3 separate regions of the Homo sapiens genome follow, and regions 2 and 3 are each linked to region 1. Evidence: promoter capture Hi-C in human tissues and cell types (Jung and others, 2019). All regions are on one chromosome and are shown on one strand. The core of a region is centred on a gene start or on the middle of the fragment in contact, and the rest is flanking DNA. Distances in the headings are between cores, read along the strand shown.

Evidence for each region. Contacts are between HindIII fragments. The study calls those that stand out against the background at their distance.
Region 2: a contact is called between a fragment that was not itself captured here and the fragment with the promoter of CHST8 in region 1, in 1 of the 25 tissues and cell types used here (liver).
Region 3: a fragment that was not itself captured here is called in contact with the fragment with the promoter of CHST8 in region 1 in 4 of the 25 tissues and cell types used here (H1 embryonic stem cells, bladder, dorsolateral prefrontal cortex and 1 more).

What each region holds. Positions count from the first base shown.
Region 1 is chr19:33,619,340-33,623,534 of GRCh38, forward strand. It overlaps CHST8 (carbohydrate sulfotransferase 8), which reads left to right and starts at 2,614. Exons shown (of 5, transcript NM_001127895.2): 1 at 2,614-2,957. RefSeq lists an enhancer at 1,575-2,319. The HindIII fragment of the contact is 24,734 bases long and covers 1-4,195 here.
Region 2 is chr19:33,437,487-33,441,858 of GRCh38, forward strand. The region is part of intron 9 of PEPD (peptidase D); the gene reads right to left. Among named protein-coding and RNA genes, the nearest start is that of CEBPG, 66 kb to the left of the region's middle. The HindIII fragment of the contact is 8,430 bases long and covers 1-4,372 here.
Region 3 is chr19:33,413,987-33,418,089 of GRCh38, forward strand. All of the region lies in intron 9 of PEPD (peptidase D), which reads right to left. Among named protein-coding and RNA genes, the nearest start is that of CEBPG, 42 kb to the left of the region's middle. RefSeq lists an enhancer at 2,349-2,498. The HindIII fragment of the contact is 3,918 bases long and covers 531-4,103 here.

The DNA.
Region 1 (4,195 bases), core at 1,364-3,863:
CACTAATCTTTCGGTGGAGACACACATATCAAAAATCGCAAGTGAGCACACAAGGCTTCCTGCAGGGAATTGCAGCCTTCCTGCTCCTCCCTCGCTGCAGAGGCTGAGCCTGACTTTCAAAAAAGGGCACGCAGCCCTTGGCAAATCTCGGAGGAAAACTCACTGCGAGTTGGTGCCAGGGGCCTCAGGCCCCCTTTGGGGATTTCCCCCATGGCCTCTCAAAACAAGAAGGAAGTCTGAGTTAAAAATGGAAAATGGAGAGAATGTCAAAGGAATGCAGCGTTATTGATTCCTAGTGGTGTCTGCCTGAATATTAGATGCAAATAAGTGCTAATAAGTACAGTTGGGAAAGCTAATGGAAAAACCATCCTTCCCAGGAGGATCGCGGCACACAGATGCACAGTGTTGCTGAGATGGCTTGGCTCGCTCCACTCACTGGTCACGGCAAAGCCTGTATAGATGCATCCCAGGGAAATAAAGCCTGTGTAGACTTGTCGCATGGAAGTACTCATGGTCCAGAGCCCCCTTTCCAGCTTTGAGGCTGGGCTCTGGAAATGGGAGCTCCTATTATCTCCCCATTGCAGTTAAGTCTCTCTTTCTCTCTCCGTGTGTGTGCATGTGTGTGTGTGTGTGCATGCATTTGCCCTCTGGAGTGTTCATGGTACTGAAGAGATTCTCTTGACCATCAGGCCTCTGTGGCAAAAGTTGTGTGCTCTGTTCCAGGCCTAACTGCAGACAGGGAGCTCATGGGCAGCTGCCCAGCCAAGCTATGGTCAGGACCTTGGGTGGCAAGAGGGGCTGCAAGTGTGGGGTAAGGGGACCACAGGGACAGGGATGGGGTCATTGCACTGTGAGCTAGTCCGGCAAGTGACTTTTTGCTCACTCCACTCTCCCCTCTCTTTGTTCCTACCTTCTCTCCTGCTCTGCTCCAACAGCTTTGGGATGTAGGATGAATAAGGGTTCCACTGCCCTGTTTTTCCTGACACTTGAGTCCCTGGCCCTTGCACTCAGCTCCTCCAATCTGCACCTGACTGAGGCGGAGGAGGGTGATTTCAGACACACACACACACACACACACACACACACATTCCCCTCATGCGTGCAGCCAGTGGAGTGTGCCTGGGTCCCAGCGCAGCCCCAGGCCTGGGTCACTCCGAGCCTAAAGTCCTGGAAAGGGAACCCCAGAACAAAGCCTATCCCAGTTTGGAATCATCACACCTGGGCCATTCTCCAGATGCGTGGAGTCCAGCAAAATGGTGGCATTTTTGCATCTCAATTCGCTCATCTGTAATACGGGAGTGATAATGTCTACTCTGTTGCTGCAAGAATTAAAGGAAGACCATGATCTCTTTGTCATGCTTCTATTTATCTTCTTATCTGTCCTGGTCTATTTTTGGATGCTCTGAGCTTACCTGGGGCATTAAGGAGGCCTCATGGCCCTGGGGCTGAGGGGCTCCCTGGCCGTCCCCAGGAGTGGCTCTGCTCTCCGCCTGGTGTCCCCCACTCTGGTCAGTCAAGACCCATGGGCCCAGCTCACTCCCCAATTCCATCACTCACTCTAGGTCAGCTGGTAGGAGTCAGGCCAACCAGCCAGCAGGTACCATTAGAGAGGAGAGAGTAAGGGTCTTTCACTTTATTAAAGGCTTCTCTGCTGTTGTTTGAAAATACTGAGTGTCCCTTCAAGACTAACAGGTGACTGTGTGCACAGTTTCCTCCAGCTCCTGTGAGAAAGCAGTTGCCCCCCTTCCCAAGGCCTGCTTGTCCCCTGCAGGCTGGGGCTGCCTCTTCTTAGGAAGAACAAGGACCCGAATCCAGGGCCCCGTGTTCCTGTCCCTACTCTGTCCCGGTGCTGTGTGGCCGTGGGCCGGTTCCACCCTCCACGCTGTTTTCCCGAGTGTGTATGAAGAGGGTCGGTTGGCCCCGCTCTCAGGCTGGTGACCCGACACAAACTTCCAGGATGAAGTCCTGAAGGGAGCACCTGTTCGCAGGGCACTTTCAGCAGAATCTAGAGCCCCAGGGATTTGAGGATGGATGCGGACACCCGGGCCTGAGGCAGCTCGCGGCCTTGACCGAATTCCACGCGAGCTGAAGCCCAGGGATATCCCAGAATCTTCCTCAGGATCAATCTTCCGCCTTTCACCGGCCCTGCGCCCCCGCAGCATCGGGTCCTGGGCGCGCGCCCCTGCCCCGCTGTGGTCAAGGCCCGCCCCGGTGACGCCTGGTCCTTTTCCCGGGTTGGCGCCGCGTGCGACCCACCGAGGCAGTGGCAGCACTGGCCGCGGTCTGGAGCCTAGCGTCAGGCCGGAGTCCGGCTCTCCTGAACCGGGAGACCGGCGCAGCCCCAGCCACGACCGCTCCCACCCCCGCGGCCGCCGGACCGCGCCCAGCAGCGACTCTTTCTGAGAGCGCTGCCAGAGGGGCCGCGGGAGCCGCAGAGCGCGCGTGGGCGCGGCGCCCGCGAGCCCCCGGGAGGGCCGAGTGCATCGCTGGAGCGATCCCCGCCCGGCCCGGCCACCGCCGTAGCCGCCACCACGGCGGGGCGGGGCACGGGCCGGGGGCGGGGCGCCGGGCGGGCGCGGCGCTATTTCCAGCCTCGCCGGAGGCTTCGCTCTCACTTCGCTGGGAGCCTTCCCGGCGCGCAAGCCGGATCCGGCAGTGCTGCGGGGAGGAGAGAGGACGAGGCGGCGGCGGCAGCAGGAGGTGGGGGACCGATCGCGCCGGGGGCCGAAGAGGAACGCCGCCCCGCGCCCTCTCGCTCCCCGCACGCTCCGGCTGCCGGCCCCACGCTGCTCGCCCACAGATCGCACTGGGTTCCGCTTGGAGCGGGCGGAGGCACCGGGCCCGAGCTGGGTCGGAGGTCCTCTCCGCCGCCTGCGCGCCCCAAGCAGAGGATCCGCCGCGGAGAACCGCTCCCGGACTGGAGGCGCCCGCGGCCTCGGGTGCGTCCGCTGCGCCAGGTAAGTGGCTGCGCCCCTGCCCCACCCCTGTTCCCGCCCTGCGCAGGCTCCTGGCCTGCAGAGACGCCAGGAAGGGGTCCCGAGCGGGCCCCGGACTGCACCGCTCGCCATCCCCGCCACCGCACGCGAATGGGAGTCCGAAGCTGCGGGCGGAGGTGGGCGCGCGGGGCTCGGGTCTGGTTGCACTTTGGGGACCGGCCCCGGTAGCGGGAACTTTAATTAGACTTTCTCTCCTTGGATCTCACTCGCTGCCGCGCTTCTGGGAACTGCCGTCCCTCGGGCCCTCTTGGTCCCTGCGGACTCCCGCTCCGCCTCCTGGCCCTCGGTGCTGCCCGCGGGGAGGCGGCGTCGGGCGCTGAGCAGCGAGCGCCGAGGGCCAGGCAGGAGCGCTCGGGGCGCTGGGGCTTCCTGGCGCGCTCGGAGCCGGGGCTCCGGACGGGTTGCGGCGGGCAGAGACTATGGGGGAAGTTTAAGTGGCCTTGGCTTCCTACCCAGCGGCTCCGTCGCGCGCGTCCCCGACCCGCAACTCTCCAGGGCACCGGCCTGTGAGTGCTGGAGGCGAGTGTGCGTGCGTCAGCGATGGTGTGAAGGTGTGTGCGTGCGTGTGTCGGGAGTGCGGGAGTCGGAGCCTGGGGCGGCTCCAGGGGGCGGGGAAATGATCCGTTTGGCCGCGGGACCGAGCCGAGCTCTGACGGCGGCTGCAACTCCGGCTACCGACTCTGCAGACCCGCTCTGGCCTCGCTGGAGGCCAGCCGGGCCAGGAGGGCGATCACGGGTTTTGGCAGTGCCCGATGCTGGGGCTTGGGTCTGATGTGACCCCGATTCCTTCTCCAGTGCGGGACTCCCGCCGCCCTAACTTTCGCGTACATCTTGTCTCCAGGCCCGCGACCCCGACCCGGAGTTGAAGCGGCTGCGGCGCCCTCGGCTGTGGGCGCTGCTGCCCGGCTGTCTGTTTTAACCCAGAAGTAGGCGCCGATCCTGGGGCTCTCTGTCCTGCAGTCGTCTCCGGCGTCCCAGAGGACTCTGCGTCCCTGGGCCACTCCCGCTGGCTCAGGAGCCGTGATCAGCTCCGTTAAGGGGAACGCGCGTCCCGGCCCCTCTCCATCTGCTTGGCGCGATCTGGCGCAGCAGCAGAGCACGTGGGAGAGGCGTTGGGTGCAGGGAGGTAGTAGCTGCTTTGGAGTGGATGGTGGAGAGGGGCGGGGGACAGAGGGGTAAGAGGCAGATCAACCCCCTTT
Region 2 (4,372 bases), core at 1,219-3,718, 180 kb before region 1:
CACGGGGGCAGGCCTGGGAGACAGCACTCCAGAATCAGACTAGATTAAGAAGATACTGTAGGCACCAAGCCTCTAAGCATCATAAATAATGCTAAAATTTTAGACTGTGGTTGAACTCTCTGCTGTCACAATCGTTTAGATCATGATGCGTTTGATGTTTTATAGCAAGATGACAAATATCTTTCTCAACTGCTAAGTGCAGAGAGCCCGTTGGAATAAATCCAACCAAACTGCCCACCACAGGTAAGTAGGTGGTGTCATTAGGAGGAGACTTGGGGGGGCGGTGGTGTCAGAAATGCCTCAGGCAGTGATTTCCAAAGGCACGCCCCGACCGTGCAGTTCAGGCCATTTTTCTCAACCCTCGCCAGTTTCTGGCACATAATCTCATTGTTGGAAGAGGCAGGGTCCAAACTCTGAATAACACATGGAGTCTGACACCCTGGCTCTCCCCTCAGCAACAATGAAGTCACAGCAGAGCCAGAGAAAGGGACAGAAAAAACAATGCAGGAAGGACAATGTGGTGAAATGTCTAACCGTGAAACAGGAGCCGGTGCATGAGAGCCACGGGCAATTCTCCTGGGCTCCTGGAAGTAGCCCTCCAATCACACCAGCTGGCTCCCTGCCCAGACACAGGCTGCAGGGATGTCCAGGAACCCAGCTGGGATCTCAGAGGGCAGACCCAGGGTGCTGGGTTTCTAGCATGGACCCTCAGCTGGGCACAGAGAGAAGAGAGCCACCTGCTTGCTGGGCCCAGAACGACTCCCCACAGTTCTCCCAGGGTACAGGCTGTGCCCACTCTGCAGGGAAAACAATGCCCATCTTACAATCCTGCCCTGCAGGGGGCCCCAGACCAACACAGCTGGCTATCTCTTCTCTGAGCCAGACCAGGGTGACTCTTGTGGTTGCCAGAAAATGCCAACTGCGGGACATCAAGAGAAGAGGCAGGTCCAAGGGTCTCTCTCCCCTGCCCTTTGCCTTATGAGGTCTGATGCCAAGACCTACGTCAGGGCACTCTATGCCCCCAGTCTTGCCAACGGTGAGTGTTTCCACTACCCAGGACTGGAGTGGCCCTGAGGTGATGGGGGGCGGGCAGGGTTCTGCTGGAAGCCGACAGCCCAACCCTGGCAGGGGCAGCTGTCCAGGAGGAAAATATTCTCCCCAAGCTTTCTCCTCCTCGGAGCTGAACTGTGACACCTCAGTACCAACCAATGGCAACCCTGGGACAAAGGAGTGCTTCCTGCCCTTTTGAGACGGAGTCTCATTCTGTCGCCCAGGCTGGAGTGCAGTGGCACGATCTCAGCTCACTGCAACCTCTGCCTCCCGGGTTCATTCAAGAGATTCTCCTGCCTCAGCCTCCTGAGTAGCTGGGATTACAGGCACGCACCACCATGCCCAGTTAATTTTTGTATTTTTAGTAGAGATGGGGTTTTGCCATGTTGGCCAGGTTGGTCTCGAACTCCTAAGCTCAAGTGATCCACCTGCCTTGGCCTCCCAAAGTGCTGGGACATAAGAGACAGGTGGCGTGCCTTCTAGTCAAACAGGGGCCTATGCTCAAGGCCAGGCCAGTGGCACAGTTCTCCTCCCTGGCAGTGCAGAAGTGGCTGCCCAAGGACAGGACATGGAGTCGAGGTTGGAGGGGCTGCTTGAGACGTCATGGACTGTTTACCCCACGTGCTTCCCCTGAGGAGGGAAAAGTGCGACGTGGACAGGGCTCCCATAACCTGGGCACATCTCACATGCATCACAGCCCTGAGGGTGCCCCACTAGCACCTTAGTCCTGTGCCTCCTGGCCTTCCTGCCCCCTGCCTCCCTCTGGGCTGGGCACCTGAGCCGAGGGGTCCTGGCTGTTGGTGGCCCTGACTTCTGGCAGGACCCTGAGGAGCAGCACCAGAGCCTGCAGATCCTGTCCCAGAGGGGCCAGACCTCAGGCATAGGCGGGTCCGAGTAAAGACTCCTCCCCTTTGTGCACATGGGCCTGGGAGTGCGTGGGCCTAGGCCAGGGCGGGCTGGCCTCTGGTGTGGGCTGGCTGTGAGGTTCATTGAGCCTCCCCAGCTGCTCTCACTAGCAGGGCTGCCCGGCAATGCCTCTGGGGCCCAGGTCATTTGCTTTAGCTCCTTGGGAGCTCTCAGCAAAGGAGACACCCCAGGTGGGAAGGATCCGGCTGAGGGATGCCCACCACAGGGGTTTCCTCTAGTGTCTGTGGGTCACACAGCCCAGCACCGTCCTGAAGAGGCTGTCCCCAGCTCGTGTGGGGTGGCTGGCACCCCCGACTGTCAGCCTGTCCTGTGATTAAATGAGATCACAACCTACAGGGTGCTGCCACCCTTAAGGCTGATAAATGCCATTTATAAACTCCCTGGAGCAAATGCCAAACTTTCCAAGGTGGGGTTCCAAGAAAGGTTCTTGTTTTTGTAGAGATGGGGTCTTCCTGTGTTGCCCAGGCTGGGCTCGAACCCCCGGCCTCAAGTGATCTCCCTGCCGTGGACTACCAAAGTACTGGGATTACAGGTGTGAGCCAAGTGTCTGCCAGAGAGGTTCTTAAATGATTTGACACTGGCTTTTCCTCAAGCGTTTCTAAACCTTCTAAATGACAACCACTGGGACCTGCGCAAGACGAGTGATCCTGGCTGGAAATGAACCTCTGAACCTCTCCCCAGATGCTCTTCTGTTCATCCCTCTGCTGCCTCAACTTCCCCAGGCACAAGGGGTCTGGACTCTTCTCCCTGTCTTCCCCACCTCACTCAATAGCAGCTCCATCCTTCTGGCTGCTCAAATTCAGACCCCTGGAGTCATCCTGGACTCTTCCCACAACACCCAGCCCTGATGGGCTGCTGAGTCCTGCTGGCTCTGCCTTCACAACCTACCCAGGGCCTGCCTGCTCCTTCCCCATCCACTCCAACCCCAGGGCTACAGGAGCCTCCTCCTGGGCTCGCTGCTCCTGACCTGGCCCCTCCATCTCTGCTTTGGACAGTAGCCAAACAGCTGGACCGTGGCCCTCCTCTGCTCGGCCCCTCACCTCTCTGGCCCCACCTCCCACCTTCAGTCCTCTCCTCTGCCCGAGTCTCCTGGCTGTTTCTGTTCCCTGACACCCCAGAGCTCAGTCCCTCGCCCACTTTGGGTCTCACTTGACTGTCCGCTCTGTGCAAGGCTTTCAACATCATCCTACTCAACACTGTCAATCACTCCCAGGACTCCCTCTACTGCCGTCCCCGCTTTTATTTTTCCACAGTCCTGGTCACTATTGAATGCACTATGTATTTTACTTCTTTATTTGACTGATTTCCCCTCTAGAGCTTCACAGATGGGATTCCTTCTGTTGTGTCTCCCCAGCTCCTAGAAGAGTGCCTGGCACCTGTTGTTACTCAGCACGTGTGTAATCCGGTGAGGGGCACTGGCAGGCTGGAAATGACGAACACTCACCAGCCAGGTGACAGGGCAGGTCCATGGGCAGCCTGACTTCCCAGGATGGGTGGTGCATGATGGGCACCCATCAGCCTGCTTGGCCGGGAGCAGGGAGAGGATCGGGAGACCCAAGCTGTACTCCAGGCAAACCCTCTGAATGGTCAAATTGGAGTTGTCTGAAATGGACAACCCTACAGGTAATGTTTAGATGGTTCTGGCCCCACCTATGGCATCTGGAAACGATGTCTGATCCTGAAGGGATGATGAGCCTGGTTCTACTATCTCCACCAAGCCCAGGGAGCTCAGCCCTGGCTCTCCAAGGCCTCCTGAGATGGCACCTTCAGAAACACGCCCTGGCATTTAACATCTTTCGGGTGAGGCTGGCCTTTGGCCCTGGGACCACCTGGGAACGGTTGCCACATGCACCTCATTACAACACCAACACGTGCCCCTTATCAGCCAGCCCAGTAGTGCAGACCTGATTCCTCGATAACCACTGGGCTATCAGGCTCACTGGGGTTGGTGACCACATCCCCAGGAAATACGGCCGCCTGCAAGAGTGCACAGTCCCGGGGAGGCCGCCACCTTGCTCAGACCTGCACGTCTTTGCGCCCAGCCAGGCTGAATCCCTGGAGGGCTGAGTGAGGAGCCCACCCAGTCCTCCTTCCCCACCACCAGGGTAGGAGGCAGCCCTGTTCCTTCCCTTCACTCAGGAGCATTTATGAGCGCCTGCTGTATGCCTGACTCTGCCACAGAGAAAACAGTGTTGGGGCTGCAGCAATGGCCCCTGGCTTCCTGGCTGAGGCCGACCTTGACCCAGAGGTGGCTGGGGGATCTGAGCCCCTTCCCAGGCAGTCTCTTTCCACTTCATCAGGCAGAAACTTCTTCCTCACTAGAGCTGGCCTGACTCTGGTAACATGTCATTTGTCATCATAATTCATAATGCAATAGGTATTTGTCCTTTTTATG
Region 3 (4,103 bases), core at 1,240-3,739, 210 kb before region 1:
CCGGGCTGGGGCAGAGGCCACACATTTCTGCAGAGCTGGAGGAAGTGATTCCCTGTGACTCCGTGCCCAGAGGCCACCACCCACCCTGCCAGGAGGGGCTGGATCTACGGCCTGCGCTCACCCGGGGAGAGGGCACAGGAGCTATGGGCAGAAGGGGCAAGGGACAGGCCTCCTGCAGGTGGGGCAGGGCAGGGTGGTCTCCAGGGATGTGGGAGAGGCAAGGCCTGGGGCACACATCCTGCTTCTCCCTCCTTGGAACGAGCTGCCTGCTGGCTGGGCCCACTCTACAAGCTCCCACCCTGAGCGGGTAGGGCCACAGCCAAGTCTGGAGAGAAAGACAAGCCCTGGCCCCAGGCTAAGCCCAGAACCTGCACCGGGGAGGCCTCTAGGATGGCGGATGGTAGCACAGTCACTGCATGGATCTTTGAGCTCCAAGGGACTGAGCCATTCTGCCTTGGTCTTCCTCTACTGAACCCAGCTGGTGAGGGGTGTGGTCGTGGGGAGCTGCCCTCACCCCCTCCCTGAGGCCTCGGCAACAGCTTTCCTGCCGGACCACAGCTGGTCCACCTGCCACCACGTGAGACAGGCCCAGGTGGCCCCCACCCGCCCACCCCCGACCAGGGCAGTCGTTGCGGCCGCCCAAGGGCACGCCACATGGCGGTCCTGCCCTGCACGTTCCAGGCCTGCCTTAGAGAACGTCCATACGAGGGAGTTTCATCTTCTAGGCACTGTCAACACAAATTATGTATAATTGTCATGATTGGATATTAAGCAGTTGTTATGCAGGAACGGCTGTGGTAGATTCAATGGGCTTTCAGACTTGCCTTCCAAACCTCACAGGATAATTGGGTATCTGCGAGTGAAATATTTCCTGAAAAGAAAGGATTTCAGGAGCTGCCAGGGAAGCAAGAAAGCCACATGCTCCTCTCCTCAGCCGCCCCCGTATTCGTGGTGCAAGCGCTCAGGAGGCCGCTTCCACCTCGCTCCTGGGAGTCTCAGCGCTGAGTTTCGCCACAGTCCAGGCACGTTCCTACCAAGGCAGGCAAGGGCAGTGCCCCACATGGCAAGCCCTGTGCGCCAGGCCAGACAGGCAGCCTCAGAAGCCACTTCACACCTCTGTGGCGCCCTCCCAGAAAGCCCGAGAAGAGGCCTGACCCACGCCGTGGAACAGGGGTGCTCCCTTGGCTTTGTGAGATGTGGTCCTGCACCAACAGAAGCGAACCTCAGAGGTCACATGGTCATTCTCGACGTGATGGCGACAGCGGACCTCTGTGGGACAAGTGACCTGCAGACAACCACGGGCTGCGCTGGGACTGGCCGGCTTCAGAAAAGACAGGCAGAGGGACAGAGATGCCATCCGCATGTGCAGAGGAACTCACATATTCTACAAGAAAGGAGCGGCAGGCCGGGCGCAGTGGCTCACACTTGTCATCCCAGCACTTTGGGAGGCCAAGGTTGGAGGACTGCTTGAGGCCGGGAGTTCAAGACCAGCCTGGGCAACACAGCAAGACCCCAGCTCTCAAAAAATCAATCAATCAATCAATACAAGAAAAAAACATCAGAAAGGGGAGGCAGTGAGGAAACTTGGCTCTCTCGCCTGCAGCAAGCTTCCCCCTGCATAACCCACTCAGTGGAGACAACTGTCTTTGAATGCCTTTGCTGCTTTTTAAGAAAAAAATAGTGCCTTCAAGAAGGCACAGCTCACAGAAGCATCAAACTAAAGAAAGGCTGACCCAGTTTTCACCTGCAAAGTGCAGCCCGACACTGGTCACCTTTGCCGGCCACGTTGACAACTCCACACACTGTTCCATAGGAAGGAGTTGAAAAGAGGAGGAGCACCACGTGCTGGATATTCACGCCCGCCTAAAAAAAGCTGAAATGCTTCACAGTGGACTTCAGTCCTGAATTTTGTTTTAAATGACCTTTTCTGACGCAACTTGAGGACACACTGGTGCTTTGGTGGCAATAACAGGTGGGCAAAACGAGCCCACGTTTTCTGCAGACTTTAGGCTTGGGGTGTGGACGCACAAGGGCACCCAAGTTCTGGGCAGCTGTGGCGGCACAGGGGGCCTGTGGAAGCGTGTGAGCCCGGCGCGGCACAGTTCTGATCTTCAAGCGGTGAGCACTGAGGGGTGGACATTCCAAACTGGGGCCCATGCTTGATGCGGACGCAACGTGTGCCCCCGCACAGCTGGGCCAGAGCTTGGCGAGTGGTGCTGGGATGACCAGGAGCAAGTGTGGGCTATGAGGACAGGCTAACAGCCTGTCCCGTGGATGACCGACATGCCATGGCAGTGGCAGCATCACAACTCCTCCAAGTGCGAGGCAGGAGGGGTCCAGCCAAGTCATCCCTGGAGCAGGCTAGCTACTACCCACCCAAAATAATTAACACCTGGAACAGGCTCTCCAGCAGAGGGCAGCAGCCAGCAAGACAGGCAGGAGTGTCACCGCCCCACTGCGACCATCTCCATAGGCTCCTTCCATAAATTTATGACTCACATCGTGCAGCCCCGGACCAGCTGGGTCTAACAGCCCCTGCTCCCTCCTGCTCACCTGGAAGGCGGATGGGGTGGTACACACACCCCAGCCAGGCTCAAGCCCAGCGCGCACCTCCTCCCCAGCAGCAGGGAGGGGCTTCCTGATTGGCTGAGAGGAGGCCGTGGTCTGCCTAAGTCCCAGCCAACGACATCCCGGCTGCTGTGTGGGCCCCGTTGTTTTTCCTTATGTGGCCATTCCTCTAACACCCTCACCTATAAATTTCTCCCAGGCAAGACTCGGGTAGAAGAGGCTTGTATCCAGGCATAAGTGAGAGAGCCCTTAAGCAACCTGGGGGAACTGCATGAGTGGTGAATAACGAGGTGGATGGAGTTACTGCAGTGTCAGTGGGGCAGGCACATCTGTCAGTGCCAGGAGATGACAAATGGGGCAGGAGCAGCAAGTTCCCAGACCCAGATCTGCAGGAATGGGGTCCCCAGAGACGGCGTCGCTGGGCCTCCCACTGGGACCCACAAATCCAGCCCGTGGAGCGCTCCCGGGCACACGGCCCAGCTCCTGCCCTCAGAAGTTTATCACCTAACATGAAGACGAGTCACAGTCCTATAAAAATGCTGCAGCTGCCCAGACAGCGGTAGAAGGGCTGCCTGGCAGCAAGTGTCGGCCAAGCTATGTGCCTCGAGCATGGGTGGGGTAGCGCCGAAGAGGTTAGTGAGGCAGTGTAAGGGGTGGCCCTGGCCACATCATTCCCTTTCCCCGGCTGGGCCTCAATGGATCTCAGGTACTCAAGAGGTGGAGAGGGGAGGCTGGGCCGGAAACAGAAGCTTGGGAGTGAAAATGCGCAGAGCTGGTGGAGCCCCCTCAGCTGGGCAGAGGGCTTAGGAAAGCAGGTAGTTGGGACATGGGGTTACAAACCTGAGGTGGGGAGGGTGTGTTCCGCACCCCGGTCCCTGTGCTGGGCTCCCTGCTCTGGGCCCCACATACCCAGCCTTCTGGGACTCAACACCAACCTCAAGGGCAAATCTTGGCTCTGCTGCTGGCCAGCTGAATGGCCTCTCCGTGCCTCAGTTTCCTCATCTGTAAAATGGGGATGATAGCGGTGCCTCCCTCCCAGGGCTGCTATGCCAGTCGAATGATTTAACATACATGGAGTATACACAATGGTGCCTGGTACCCAAGGAGCTCTGTGTACAGTGACCTAGCCATCGTGGTCACTGTTCAGAGGCCTGGAGGGAGGCTGGAGAATGGGGATCCCTCCTCAGGCAGCAGGAGAGGAGGTCGTGGGCATCCTGTGCCAGGCTTTGAGAAACAGCCTCTTGACTATTCCTTTAAAACCAAACAGAATCTGCATAGGTCCACGGCCCGGACACCCACTCCCGCACCCTCCAGGCAGCCAAGTTCTCTACAGAAGTCCTTCCTGGGCCCACACACTCCCAGCATCTCCAGGATGTTCACCAGCAAAAACGCGGAGGTGTGTCCTCTGCACCAGCTACCGGGACACGTGCGCACAGACAGGCTTCTGGCTGGACAGAGGGGGCCTGTGCCCACCATCCCTTCACAGCTGCCCCTCGCCCTCACGGAGCTGACCCAGGGTCCCCGCCTTCCCGGGG